4 separate regions of the Homo sapiens genome follow, and all the other regions are linked to region 3. Evidence: promoter capture Hi-C in 16 types of primary human blood cells and fetal thymus (Javierre and others, 2016). All regions are on one chromosome and are shown on one strand. The core of a region is centred on a gene start or on the middle of the fragment in contact, and the rest is flanking DNA. Distances in the headings are between cores, read along the strand shown. Region 1 has its middle 20 kb from the start of OR2K2. Region 2 has its middle 19 kb from the start of MIR7702. Region 3 holds the start of MUSK (muscle associated receptor tyrosine kinase). Region 4 has its middle 2.6 kb from the start of OR2K2.

Region 1 (3,647 bases), core at 986-3,485, 640 kb after region 3:
ATCCCCTCTGGAGGACACAGCATTCAAGGCACTATCTTGGAAGCAGACATCCAGCCCTTACTAGATACCAAATATGTGAGTACCTTGATCTCAGACTTCCTAGTCTCCAGAATTGTGTGACATAAATTTCTGTGTTTACAAGTCTCAGGTATTGTGTTACAGCAGCACAACAGACTAAGATAGACAGTATCCATTGGCACAGAGGGCACATATGGGAAATGTGGTAAGATACCATTCTCTTATGTATCTTCATAACAGTGAGCTAATACCACAAGCTGAGAAATGCAATCAAGACCACAATATCAATTTATATTAATATTGGCAAATATTTAAAAGTCTGACATACCAAGTATACATAGCATGTGTATTAACAGAATCTATAGACAGCATGTGTGTTAACAGAAACATTAGTGGTTGGACTATAAACTGTTAATGGCCACTCTGGAAACCAGTTTGGGATTATTCTTTAAAACTGAACATTCACATTTCATACAAGCTAGTAATTCCATTCAACAAAAACCAACAGGCACACTTTCATATTTATACCAGGAGAAATGTTCAAGATTGTATATAACGACACTGTTCATGATAGCAAAAAACAAACAAACTGAAAAAATAGCCCCAATGCTCTAAACAGGAAAGTGTATTAACTTTGGTATGTTCACACAATGGAATATTATGCAGAAGTCAGAATGAATACCTACTCGCACAAAACATAATAAAGATGCCTCTTAGAATATAATATAGTGTGAAAAAGCAAACACCTTTAAGAGAGAATGTGGCACACAGTGACAAAGAAGACCCTAAATACACCTCGTTATATATGACAAAACCACATAAAAATAAGGCAAAAGAATGATAAACACAAAATTCACGACAGTGTTTACCTTAATAGGGAGGTCAAGGAACAGGCTGGGAATCAGCCTATAGGTAGACACAAGTTATTTTGTCAATATTCTAATTTATATGCAAATGAATGAGCTCATGACTGTTCATGCTATTATTCAAAATAAACAATGAGACTTGAATGATGAAATTGTTTAATGAACCAAGGACTATAATTACTACAATTCTATTCACCCATGGTCCATAAAGAAAAAGAAGAAAAAGAAAAACTCCAGTGAGTTCTACCAAATACTTAAGGAAATATAATTCCAATTTTTATACATACTCTTTCAGAGAATAGAGAAAAGGAAACACTTGCGAACTCATTTTATGGTGCTAGCATTCTTTTATATCCAAACCCAATAAATCCAGCCTGAGAAACAAAAATTACAGACAAATATTGCATGTTCTCACCCATATGTAGGAGCTAAAAAAGTTAATCTCATGAGGGTAGACAGTAGAATAATAGTTACCGGAGGCTTGGAAGTGGGGGAGTCGGGGGAATGAGACAGGTTGGTTAATGGGTACAAACATACAGGAACAGATGGGAGGAATAAGTTCTGCTGTTGGATAGCAGAGTACGGTGACCACAGTTAACAATGTATCGTATATTTCAAAATAGCTAAAAGAGAGGCCTTGAAATGGCAGTGGCTCACACCTGTAATCCCAGCACTTTGGGAGGCCGAGGCAGGTGGATCACCTGAGGTCAGGAGTTCAAGACCAGCCTGACCAACATGGAGAAACAACATCTCTACTAAAAACACAAAATTAGCAGGGCGTGGTGGCACGTGTGTGTAATCCCAGCTACTCAGGAGGCTGAGGCAGGAGAATCGCTTGGACACAAGAGGCGGAGGTTGCGGTGAGCCGAGATCGCGCCATTGCACTCCAGCCTGGGCAACAAGAGCAAAACTCCATCTTAAAAAAATGTTCCCAACACATAGCAATGATAAATGCTCGAGGCAATGTGTATCCTAAATACCCTGACTTGGTCATTACACAGCCTATGCATGTAACAAAATATCACATGTACCCCATAAAAATGTACAAATATTATCTCAATTAAACAATTAAATTATGAGCTAACAAATTGTGCAAAACTGAAAACAAAATGCTTTCAAAATTCACAATAAATTTTGTCCAAGTTAAGGAAGTTCGTATCTATTTTAAGTTTGCTGGCAGTTTTGTAAAATCATGAAAGGATGTTAATTTTATCAAATGGGATTTTTTTCATCTGTTGAGGTGCCAACATAACTCTCCCCCTTTAATCTACTAATGTGGTAGTTGATGTTTTTATTAAAACAACTTTGCAGGACTGGGTGCAGTGGCACACACCTGTAATCCCAGCATTTTGGGAGGCCAAGGCAGGTGGATCACTTGAGCCCAGGAGTTCAAGACTAGCCTGGGAAACATTGTGAACCATGTCTCTACAAAAAATACAAAAATCAACTGGGAATGGTGGCACGCACAAGTAGTCCCAGCTACTCGGAAGGCAGAGGTGGATCTCTTGAGCCCGAGGGGTCAAGGCTGCAGTGAGCCGAGATTGCACCACTGCACTCCAGCCTGACCACCAGAGTGAGACCCTGTCTCAAAAACAAAACAAAACAAAAAAACAAAAACTGCATATCTGGGGTATGTCTTGCATGTAATACAAGTTTTCCATGTATTACCTTTTTTTATACATGATTGGATTTCGTTACTTGTTTAATTCTGATTTTAAAACTTTTTTTGTTGAGGTAAAATATACATATATAAGTTTTCACTTTTACCATTTTCAAGTGTACAGTTCTGTGGTAATAGTAAATAAATACAAGTATATTCTTTTTCTTTCCCTTCATCCCTCCCTCCCTCCTCCCCCTCTCAGCCTCTAGTAACCACCAGTCTATTCTCTATCTTCACGAAATACTGAGAACATGCGATATTTGTCTTTCCATGCTTGGATTATATCACTTAACATATGGCCTCCAATTCCATCCATATTGTTGCAAATCATAGGATTTCATTCATTTTTATGGCTGAATAATATTCCATTGAATATAGGTACCACATTTTCTTTATCATTCATCCACTGATGGACACTTAGATTGATTCCATAGCTTGGCTATTGTGATTAGTGCTGCAATAAACATGGGAGTGCAGATATCTCTTTGACATACTGATTTCCTTTCTTGTGGGTATATACCCAGCAGTGGGATTGCTGGATCATAGGATAATTCTATTTGTGGTTTTTTGAGGAACCTCTATACTGTTCTCCATAGTGGCTGTACTCATTGACATTCCCACCAACAGTGTATGAGGGTTCTCCTCTCTCCATATTCTCACCAGCATCTGTTATTGTCTGCCTTTTGTATATAAACCATTTTATCTGCATGTTTATCACATTGTGGTTTTGATTTGCATTTCTCTGATGATTAGTAATGTTGAGTATCTTTTCATACACCTGTTGGACATTTCTACATCTTCTTCTGAGAAATGTCTGTTCAGTTCCTTGGGCTTTTTGTTAATCAGATTACTTGGTTTTTTGCTATTGAGTTTTTGGAGCTCCTTATATATTCTGGCTATTGATCCCTTGTCAGATGGGTAGTTTGTAAATATTTTCTCCCATTCTGTGGGTTGTCTCTTCACTTTGCTGATTGTTTCTTTTGCTGTGCAGAGCTTTTTAACTCGATGTAATCAAGCTAATTTGTCTATTTTTGCTTTGGTTGCCTATGGTTTTGAGGTCTTACACATAAAAAATTTGCCCAAATGTCCTGGAGCATTTCCCC
Region 2 (3,607 bases), core at 884-3,383, 620 kb after region 3:
AAAAAAAAAAGTGTGATATGAAAATCTCCTTTCTTAGTGGAACTGAATGTTCCTTAAGTTTAGTCTTTCATCTTGAGACATCAATCCCACTGCTGTCCACAATGTTTCGGCCATGGACATTCTCAAGTCCTATGCCCTGCTTCCAGTCAATCAGTGCCCTTGGATTGCCTTTGCAGAAACTATCAAATCCTGGAGCATTCATTGGAACAGTTGTATTTTAGATGCTGTCACAAGGGAGTAAGTAGAAACCAAAGGAGCTGAAACTTCTTCAACCTCTAAGCTGACTCACTCTTTATTTCAGAGTTCAGATACAAGTCATATTTATTTCGCTTTAGCTAAGCACATCTTCATGGTAGCTGGCTCATTTTTGTTCAAGTAATTTACATCCATTTCCTCTTATTAAGTCATTTGCCCCTCCTTTAAGTCCTTTTAGGCAGTTAGTAGTCCATTGTTTTCTCTTGGGACCTATTTCCTTCAGCTTTTATACTTTTTGGTACTCTAATATCCTGAAACAGCAAAGTTTCCAAAGTGACTAACTTAACCTAAGATGTTACTCATACATCAGAGGAATCGTTTTCAGAAATGTCTTAAACAGCTTTCTCCTTTCTTCAAATAAATTTTAATGCAGAGGCTTGATATATAAAACAGGTAAGTGTGGAGTGCCTCAGTTTTCAGGATAAGAGAACTCGGATGGGTAGGCTTGTGCTCATTCTTGTCCCCCGAGGCTGCCCAGAAGGACCTTTCCAGAAATCTAGGTACCTGTAGAGCACATTTTAATAACACTTGTGCTAACAGAATCTGAATTATTTAAATACTATATGTGTGCAGATAGATAGATAGATGATAGATAGATAGATAATAGATAGATAGATAAACTTCTACCCTGATTTGTAGACCATGCCATGCCTGGAGAGATCTAAATATTCACAATGAAATGAACAACAAATAAATCTATATAGAATCAATGAAAAGATACTGCAATAAAGAAGGAAGCCAAATATAAGGCATGAAAACTCAGGAGAAAAGTAGACTCTAAAAAATAATGAGATGACTTCCAGAAGAATCAGAAGAAAATTATGGTACAGTTTCCTAGTGTTCCCAGAGTTATAAGAAGACATGACCTTTGTAAAACAAAAACTCCAAGTTTTAATGGGGAATATAGTTAAATGAAGAAAGAGATGCAGAAGGAACTAGCTGAAATGAGAAAAACAAGTACAAAAAATCTAATATATTATAATAAAATTAAAATCTCCATTGAAGAAGGTAATGAGCAGAAGTGACATTGAATAAAACTGGAACAATAATATTGAAGACAAACTTGAGAATCTATCACTGCACAGAGAGAAAATAACAACAAAAATTAAATACTGACAGGAAAAATGATATTTTTCAAAAACAGGGAAGTCAGAAATATTAGGACCCAAAAACAAAATGAACAAAAAACATAAAAGAAAGAAAAAAAATTTTCTGGAATTAAAAAAATAGAAATCCTGAGTCTATTCAAAAACAGGGTTCAGGATGTTCCGGGAAAAATTATTGAACTAGAACCCATTCCAACACAAAAGGCAAACTATTTTAATGATGTGGATAAAGAAAAATACTATAGAGTATAAGAAGAAGAAAAGTTTATCTAGAAATGGAAAAAATTCAAGCTTCATCACATGTGTAAATTCAAGAAGAAAATGGAGGTGTGTCTGCCAGATTTTGAGGGGAAAAACATAGTGAACTAAAATTCTGAACTTTGTCAACTTTCTTTCACAAACAAAAGCAACAGAAAAAACTTCTCATGCAAAGATACAGCAAGAATTCCACAAATGCACCTTTGACAGAAATGTCTTCAATTACATTCTAAAGCTAAAGTAGTTGAAAGAGGATTCAAGAAGTCAAAAGTCAAAATATAAAAGCACTAGTGTCAGTACAGACAAGATAACATAACAATATACACAGAAAATAACTACAAAACCTGTTGCAAATAAAATTTTAAAATTTCACTCAAAGCAAACATAAGACTGCCATTTATGGTATCATAATGGACTAAAGACCATGATTGACCCTCCTGGTGAAAATGACTAAAAAATGCTAGATTAAATATATATTTTTAATAACTCTTTTTCTTGAGATGAGATCGCACTCTGTTGCCCAGGCTGGACTGCAGTGTGACGCGATCATGGCTCCCTACAACCTCGGTCTGCCAGGCTCAAGTTATCTTCCCATCTCAGCCTCTGGAATAGCTGGGACCAGGTATGCACCACCACACCCAGCTAATTTTTGCATTTTTTGTAGAGATGCGCTTTCGCCATGGTACCCAGGATGGTCTTGAACTCCTGAACTCAAGTGATCCACCTGCCTTGGCCTCCTAAAGTGCTAGGCATGAGCCACCATGCCCGGCCTTAAATATATATATAGTTTTTAAACTTTTTTTATTTGTTAATTAGCTTGATTTAATCATTCCATAGTGTAAATATGGATCAAAACACATCCTGTATCCCATAAATATACAATATATATGATTATTATTTTTCAATTAAAAATAAAATTTAAGAAAGAAAGTACATTACCTGTGGAGAACAAATGCTATATATCTGTTAATGCAGGGCTGGAATTTAAATTATTTAAAGCTTCATGTCCTTATTTTTGTCTACTTAGCCTGTCAGAGATTGAGAATACTGTATTACGGCTTCCACTATAATTGCCTCTGACATTGTTCTTTTGCAAAAGGTTTTATTGTATACATTTATTTGCCTATTTTATATATTTCTTAGTTGCTATATATTCAGTATGGGGATGCTTCATTATAAAATATTTCTCTTTTACCATAGTCATTGTCTTTTTAAATACTCAATAAGCTGATAAGAAAATAGACAACCTTTGGACAATAAAAACTGAAGAGAACAAAAAAATACCTAGAGGAATAAGTGGAGAACTAAACCTGGCTTTGTTTTGAGGCATTTTCTGAATCCAAGTGACCTTAGGCTTCTGTTTTCACAGGCTCATGGGTTGCAGAGGACAGAAGACGAAGCTCACCTGTGATGCACAGTCTCATGGAAAACTGGCCAAATAACAAGTGGGTTCCCAAAGAACTACTTGTACATCAGTGTAAGATGAATAGAATCAAACACCTCACACACCAAGGGCATAATAGAGAAAATTGCCTGTTTGAAACCTTGGATGGGGTAAAGAAGGTATGCAAATTCATTCCAAAGCTAACCCCCTCAGGAGCCTCAAATTTTCTCTATCTAGATGATCCAACAAACCTGAGAACTTAATTTAAAGTTATCCCCCTGGGTTTTCAGTGTCCCTAGTCTCATGGAAGAAGCAAATGTAAATATTTTTTCAATGAACCAACCCTCAACAAAAGCCTCAAAGAATTCCTACCAAAGATATTCCAAGGACCATGAGCAGCTTACAGTCAAAAATTACAAAATACACAAGGAAAGAAGCTACCATCTGAGAAAGCCTGCAATAATAACAGACAACAAAATCAGTCTTGCAAAGAGTTCAGATATTGGAATTATTGGTAATAGAATATTTTTTAAATATGTTGATTTAAAATATATTCAAAGAAATGAAATGTTTTAAATATGATTAAAGAGCAAGGGATTATAAG
Region 3 (3,665 bases), core at 467-2,966:
ACATGATTGTATATTTAGAAAACCCCATCATCTCAGCCCCAAATCTCCTTAAGCTGATAAGCAACTTCAGCAAAGTCCCAGGATACAAAATCAATGTGCAAAGATCACAAGATTCCTATATACCAATAACAGACAAACAGAGAGCCAAATCATGAGTGAACTCCCATTCACAATTGCTACAAAGAGAATAAAATACCTAGGAATCCAACTTACAAGGGATATGAAGGACCTCTTCAAGGAGAACTACAAACCACTGCTCAAGGGAATAAAAGAGGACACAAATAAATGGAAAAACATTCCATGCTCATGATAGGAAGAATCAATATTGTGAAAATGGCTGTACTGCCCAAGGTAATTTATAGATTCAATGCTATCCCCATCAAGCTACCATTGACTTTCTTCACAGAATTAGAAAAAACTACTTTAAATTTCATATGGAACCAAAAAAGAGCCCATATAGCCAAGGCAATCCTAAGCAAAAAGAACAAAGCTGGCGGCATCACACTACCTGACTCTAAAGTTCTATAAATGAACTCACGAGGCCAAAGAATGAAGAAGACACCAACACAAAGGGGAAAAAATCAAAACAATATGGTCATTGCAATGGTAGAGATATGCACAGTATATTATGGAAACCCAGAGAAGACAAACGTAACACAGCTTTGGGAAGATATGGAATTTTTCTCCCAGGAGGAGAGGATGATCAAGCTGAGAGATGTGTGAACTGAGTGGAAAGGAGGGGAGTAGTATTCCAAGAGAAGCAAACAGTATGAGCAATTCATGGAGGTAGGAAAGCTGTATACAGGGAACCATCAGCAGGTTGTTGAATAAAGGAAGCTGAATGAGGCTGGGCACAGTAGCTCACGCCTGCATTCCCAGCACTTTGAGAGGCCGAGGTGGAATCATCATTTGAGGCCAGCAGTTTGAGACCAGCCTGGGTAACATAGCCTGACCACATCTCTCCAAAAAATAAAAATAAATTAGCCTGCTGTAGTGGCAGTGCCTGTAGTCCTAGCTACTCTGAAAGGATCACTTGAGTCCAGGAGGCTGAGGTTGCAGTGAGCTATGATTACCCCATTGCACTCCAGCCTGGGCAACAGAGCAAGACCCTGACTCTGAAAAAAAAAAAAAACAAAAAACAAAAACAGGATCGTAAAAGACAATACTAACATACAACAAAGCATGCAGATTCCAGTAAAGCCTGTCATATTAGGCAGATTAGGCAGGTTTAAATATATTTTTATGTGATGATGAGCCCCTAAAGGCTTTTGAGCAGGAGGGACTATCTGAAAAAAGATATAGAATGGTTAAGACCCAAGACAGAGAGAAGGTACAAGGACTATTTGGTTGATAAAATCTGTAGGAATTGGAATGGGCTGAATGTGGGAGTGGGGGTGGGGTGAGAGATGGGGAGGACTGAAGACTGAATAGACCCAGATTTCTGGTTTGAGTCCGGGAGAGGTGGGGTGCTGAATTCGAAGGTCAGGACACCTATACCTCTGGGAATACAGCGATGGTTGCAAAAGGCATCTGGTATTGTCCTTCTGCCACTGTCTTAAAAGGGATTCTAAAGGGATTTTCTTGCCCTTGTTCCTCCAGCCCTACACTTGCATTACTGGCCTACGTGGATGCTCACCAGCTGGCTGTGTCCATCATTGCAGCCAAGTCTGAGAATTCCTGATTATACTTAGAGCCTGTGGAGCTGCTGACACAAACAGTCATTAGCAGACAACCCTTTTGCAACAAAGTATGCTTTAAAATGTAAACTGTGGAGCCATTTTCCTTGCGTTGTCCAGAAGGAACTTCGTCCTGCGTGAGCCTGGATTAATCATGAGAGAGCTCGTCAACATTCCACTGGTACATATTCTTACTCTGGTTGCCTTCAGCGGAACTGAGAAACTTCCAAAAGGTTGGTTTGAGCAATCGTGTCTTCTTGTTGTCTTGTCATGGTTGTAAAGTGTGTGTATATGAGATATGACCAAGACTGATTTATAGTATGGTGGGCTTGGGTTTTACTTGAAGAAGTAAGGGTGAAATGTATGATGAGGGAGGAAATTATATACATAAGCAATTGGTTGATGGTCTCTCTACCAATATTTTACTCCGAAGTTCTGCAATAAAAGGCTTAGCCACATAGTGCATGCAGAGCTCTGACTTCTAGGGCAAAACATAAGCATGTACACTGCAAGTTATCAAGGTCTATTTTGTTTATGCGAATGTCAAATTTCAGGGTGGTCTAAGTGGATGATGACAACCTTTTCGCATCAGGTTTGCCAGGAATAGAATCAACCCCATTCTCAGACATCCAGAGCATTTGCTTCTGAATAAAAATCACTTTTATTTTCAGTTTTAGCTTTGCCAAACTCTTAATAAATATTTTAGTTGCTAAAAATTGGAAATACAGAAAGACGTACACAATTTGCCTGTGTAACAAACCCGGAAGACAATGGATTTTAAATAACTTTGAGGCTGGAGTCATGATTTGGCTTGGCAAGAGACTGCAAAAGTTTTTTTCAGAGCCTTTGGAATGTACCGGAAATAACACCACCTCAGGGGAAAGGAAAGCAACTTAAGAAACTGACAAACACCTGTTGCAGTAGCAAGAATGTCCAGTGATATAGTTTCTGGCCAGTGTATTATGAAACTGGGACTAGCGTATTTGAAATCAGAAAGACTGGAAAGTCTGTGATTTGCAAAGTGACTAAGGGTATCACTGAAATCTTTTTTTAAAAAGACATGAGAAAGCAGATCGAGTGGTATCAATACAAGAGTTTTCAAATTTAATGTTATACCATAGAGTAAAAAGAGATTTTTGCTTCAGGACATGTTCAAATTAATCATTTTCCCTTTATATTAATCAAAGCACTGAAACAGTTTGTATTGTGTAGATAAATGAAGGTGGTATCTGTATATAGATGCAAAATGTATCTTTAGATTTTCTGGTTCACTAAAAATTCTGGAGCCATAAGGTCAAAGTTCACATGCAAATAAGATGCGGGTTTCTTCACAAACAATCTGATTTCACAGATTTTTTTGTTTCATTTTGTTGCTTCTCTTTTTCCATTTTACTTGAGTATAATGGTATCTTCAAATGTATTTAAACATTTAATTTCTAATGAATACTTTAAGGCATCTACAGATAAAAGAGACTCTAGATCTTTTCAAACAGCTAATAATAGTCAGAAAGACTTAACATTGGCTTCAGATTATTTTAATACTTCCTGATCAAACAACGGATGTCCGGTAAGGCCCCACCTGGATGTTTGAACGTATGGGTTGTCTTAAGTATTATTTGTATATTTCTAAACCACGCAGTTACATAAAAATGATAGGGTTAAATACTAAAATACAGTCTTATAAAGAGCAGGACAATTGATTTTGATGATTCAAATAAGGATTTGTTGTACACACACACAAAACCCCCAAAATCTCTCTATCTGAATAAGTCTTAATTTATATTCTAGAAAGAATTGATTTTCATTTCCAAACTTTACAAATAAAGCCCTTAATTCAAATGCACACTATCTCTATTTTGAAAATATTGAAATATAGTGGCATAGAGATAACAAAGCCAAACACCCTGACTTTTAAATAAACTAACCAGATCATTCACCCAATTTCATTTCTTATAATTTATTTACTACTAGAATTAGGTTTTAAAATCA
Region 4 (3,810 bases), core at 174-2,673, 660 kb after region 3:
TGTTTTGTTTTTAAGACAGAGTCTGGCTCTGTCGCCCAGGCTGGAGTGCAGTAGCACGATCTCAGCTCACTGCAACCACCACCTCCCAGGTTCAAGGGATTCTCCTGCCTCAGCCTCCTGAGTAGCTGGGACTACAGGCATGTGCCACCACGCTGGGCTAATTTTTGTATTTTTGGTAGAGACAGGGTTTCACCATGTTGGCCAGACTGGTCTCGAACTCCTGAGCTCAAGCAATCCACTCACCTCAGCCTCCCAAAGTGCTGGGATTACAGGCGTAAGCCACCACCCCCGGCCCCAGATATTAGTTTCTAAACACCATTCTTAACTAGAAGGAAACATGGCTCCTTGGGAAAATGACTAATACCAGAGCTAGGATAAGAAAGAACAAGATTAACTTAGAGTATCTTACCATACCAGAAAGTAAGAAATATGCAAAGAATGGTAGGAATATAGCAAAGGGTCATAGACGCCCACTTGATGAAGCTCCCATTGCTAAATTTAGGACAGATTATTTGGAGCATCAAAATAAAAATGATAATAATTGATCATAATTCATAGAATAATATAAAAATGTACGTTATTATATAAATAAATAGGAATAGAAAGCTCTTCTTCACAGTAGGATGCCAAAAAATATAAATTTAGAGGAATGATGTTAGAAAATAATCAATCACAGTTAAGGGTTTTGTAGGCAATAGATTACCACAGGTAAAATGTTGTATTAGGTTAATGTAGGCAGTGTCGTTTTTGAAGGTAAAAGTTGGATGAACAGTATATTTACATGGTGTCAAAATATCTCACCACAAATTACTTAGTAAGTTTAAAGATAAAATAATAACTTTATGGTGGGGAGGCCTGAAGGATAATCATGTTAAAATCACCAATATTGGGACAAATAGACTCCATGTGCCTTCTAATATGAGGTACTGAGAACACACTATCACTTCTGAGGTATTCCCATCAAAATTAAATCACCAGAATCTAACCATGAGTGTAAACCAGACAAACCTAAATTTAGGGATATTATGCAACATAATCAGCCTATGCTTTCCAAAAGTACAGACAATTCTCAAAAAAGGATATACAAATGGCCACAAAACATATGAAAAAATGTTCAACATCACTAATTATCAGGGAAATGCAAATCAAACCCACAGTGCAGTACCACCTTACTCCTGCAAGAAGGGCCTTAATCAAAAAATAATAGATGTCGGCATGGATGGGATGAAAGGGGAACACTTTTACACTGCTGGTAGGAAGGTAAACTAGTACAACCACTATGGAAAACAGTGTGAAGACTCCTTAAAGAACTAAAAGTAGATCTACCATTTAATCCAGCAATCCCACTCCTGAGTATCTACCCAGAGGAAAAGAAGTCATCATACAAAAAAGATACTTGCACACATGTTTATAGCAGCACAATTCGCAATTGCAAAAATATGGAATCAGCCCAAATGCCCAACAATCAATGAGCAGATAAAGAAAATGTGAGATAGATAGATATACATACACACACACACCATGGAATACTACTCAGCCACAAAAAGAAACAAAATAAAGGCATTTGCAGCAACCTAGATGGAATTGGAGATCATTATTCTAAGTGAAGTAACTCAGGAATGGAAAATCAAACATGCTATGTTCTCGCTCTCTCACTCATAAGTGGGAGCTAAGCTATGAGGATGCAAAGGCATAAGAATGACACAATGGACTCTGGGGACTCAGGGGAAAGGATGCGAGGCTGGGGAACAAAAGACAACGTATTGGGGATAATGTACACTGGTGGGTGTACCAAAATCTCAGGAATCACCACTAAAGAACTTACCCATGTAGCCAAACACTACCAGTTCCCCCAAGACCTACTGAAATAAAAAAGAAGAAATCATAAAATAAAAAACTCCTAATTAAAAAAAAAAAGTGTCACAATCAGGAAACAAAAAGAAAAACCAAGAAAATGTTCCATACCTGAAAGAGACAGGACAACTAAATATGATACATGCCCCAGCATGAATCTTAGATTAGGAAAAATGGTCTGTAAAGGACATTATTAGGACAATTGACAACATTTGAAAATGGGCTGGGGATTAGATATTAGCATTCTATCAATATCATATTTCCTGATCTTGATCACTGTACTATGGTTATGTAAGATAATGCTCTTATTCTTAGGAAATACACACTGAAGCATTTAGTGTTAAAAGGGCAAAATGTCTCCAACTTACCCTCAAATCATTGGTAAAAATATTTTTTTAAAAGTTGTGTGTGGAGAGAAAATGCACTTATTGCCACATACTTTTTGCAAGTAATGCCTTCTCCATATTTTCTGTGTCCTTATGACAGTTCATTTACTCTGGATCACTGATGGCAAACGTCCAGAAAGAAGACCCTCAGAAGAACTTGGTCCTACCACATGAATAGGCAAATTGTTTCCTTCTTAGGAAAAGAAGAAACAACAACTATATTGAATAATATAAAATATAAAATAGAGCTAATTAAATGGTAGGATTATATTTTGGGGATAATGGGCTAGAGTGGCCCATACAGCATGAGCTTGGAATAGTGAAACTGGCTAAATCCAATAGGCTTGTTTGATTGTAAAACATAGGAAACATGATAACTAATGACTTGAAGTTTTAATAATATTAATCTTGAAACTTTATTTTTCTAAAAGTCAGCACTCACGACAAATCCCTCCCACCACCAGGCAACAAGACAACAAGAATTTTATAAGAAAATTGACAATGAGATGACCGTCTATGTAGAAAATCTGAAAGAATCAACAAAAACCTGCTGGAACTAAGAATAAGCAATTCCCAATAAGGTTTCAGGACACAGGGTTAATGTACAAAAGTCACTTGCTCTCCTGTATACCAGCAAAGAAGAAATGGAATTTGCAATTAAAAACACAACATTGTTTACACTAGGATCCCTCCCCCACAATGATATACTTGAGCATGAATCTAACAAAATATGTGTATAATCTATATAAGGAAAACTATAAAACTCTGATAAATGAAATCAAAGAAGAACTAAATAAATGGAGAAATATTTCATGTTCTTGGATGCTAGGAAGACAATATTGTCAAGAAATCAGCTCTTTCCAAACGGGCCTGGCAAGATGGCCAAATAGGAGCAGCTCTGGTCTGCAGCAACCAGCGAGATCAACCCAGAAGGCAGGTGATTTCTGCATTTCCAACTGAGGTACCCGGCTCATCTCACTGGGACTGGTTAGACAGTGGGTGCAGCCCAGGGAGGGGAGCCGGAGCAGGGTGGGGTGTCGCCTCACTCAGGAAGCACAAGGGGTTGGCAAACTCCCTCCACTAGCCAAGGGAAGCTGTGAGGGATCATACTGTGAGGAATGGTGCACTCCAGCCCAGATACTACACTATTCCCACAGTCTTTGCAACCTGCAGACCAGGAGATTCCCTCAGGTGCCTACGCCACCAGGGCCCTGGGTTTCAAGCACAAAACTGGGCGGCTGTTTGGGCAGACACCAACCTAGCTGCAGGAGTTTTTTTTCATACCCCAGTGGCACCTGGAACTCCAGTGAGACAGAACCATTCACTCTCCCTGGAAAGGGGGCTGAAGCCAGGGAGCCAAGTGGTCTAGCTCAGCGGATCTCACCCCCATGGAGCCCAGCAAGCTAAGATCCACTGGCTTGAAATTCTCACTGCCAGCACAGCAGTCTTAACCTGGGATGCTCAAGCTTGATGGGGGAGGGGGGTCCACCATTACTGAGGCTTGAGTAGGTGGTTTTCCCCTCACAGTGTAAACAAAGCCGCCAGGAAGTTCAGACTGGGCGGAGCCCAC

What was found. The method cuts DNA at HindIII sites, captures the fragments that hold promoters and counts their contacts. A CHiCAGO score of 5 or more calls a contact.
Region 1: a fragment that was not itself captured here is called in contact with the fragment with the promoter of MUSK in region 3 in 7 of 17 cell types (M2 macrophages, M1 macrophages, monocytes and 4 more); the score reaches 10.0 in M2 macrophages.
Region 2: a contact is called between a fragment that was not itself captured here and the fragment with the promoter of MUSK in region 3, in 5 of 17 cell types (M1 macrophages, endothelial precursors, erythroblasts and 2 more). The highest score is 6.7, in M1 macrophages.
Region 4: a contact is called between a fragment that was not itself captured here and the fragment with the promoter of MUSK in region 3, in 1 of 17 cell types (M1 macrophages). The highest score is 7.4, in M1 macrophages.

What each region holds. Positions count from the first base shown.
Region 1 is chr9:111,308,168-111,311,814 of GRCh38, forward strand. No RefSeq gene overlaps it. Among named protein-coding and RNA genes, the nearest start is that of OR2K2, 20 kb to the right of the region's middle. The HindIII fragment of the contact is 4,775 bases long and covers 1-3,647 here.
Region 2 is chr9:111,288,549-111,292,155 of GRCh38, forward strand. No RefSeq gene overlaps it. Among named protein-coding and RNA genes, the nearest start is that of MIR7702, 19 kb to the left of the region's middle. The HindIII fragment of the contact is 966 bases long and covers 1,651-2,616 here.
Region 3 is chr9:110,667,075-110,670,739 of GRCh38, forward strand. It overlaps MUSK (muscle associated receptor tyrosine kinase), which reads left to right and starts at 1,717. Exons shown (of 15, transcript NM_005592.4): 1 at 1,717-1,909. The coding sequence starts at 1,831. The HindIII fragment of the contact is 6,269 bases long and covers 1-3,665 here.
Region 4 is chr9:111,330,893-111,334,702 of GRCh38, forward strand. No RefSeq gene overlaps it. Among named protein-coding and RNA genes, the nearest start is that of OR2K2, 2.6 kb to the left of the region's middle. The HindIII fragment of the contact is 4,561 bases long and covers 1-3,704 here.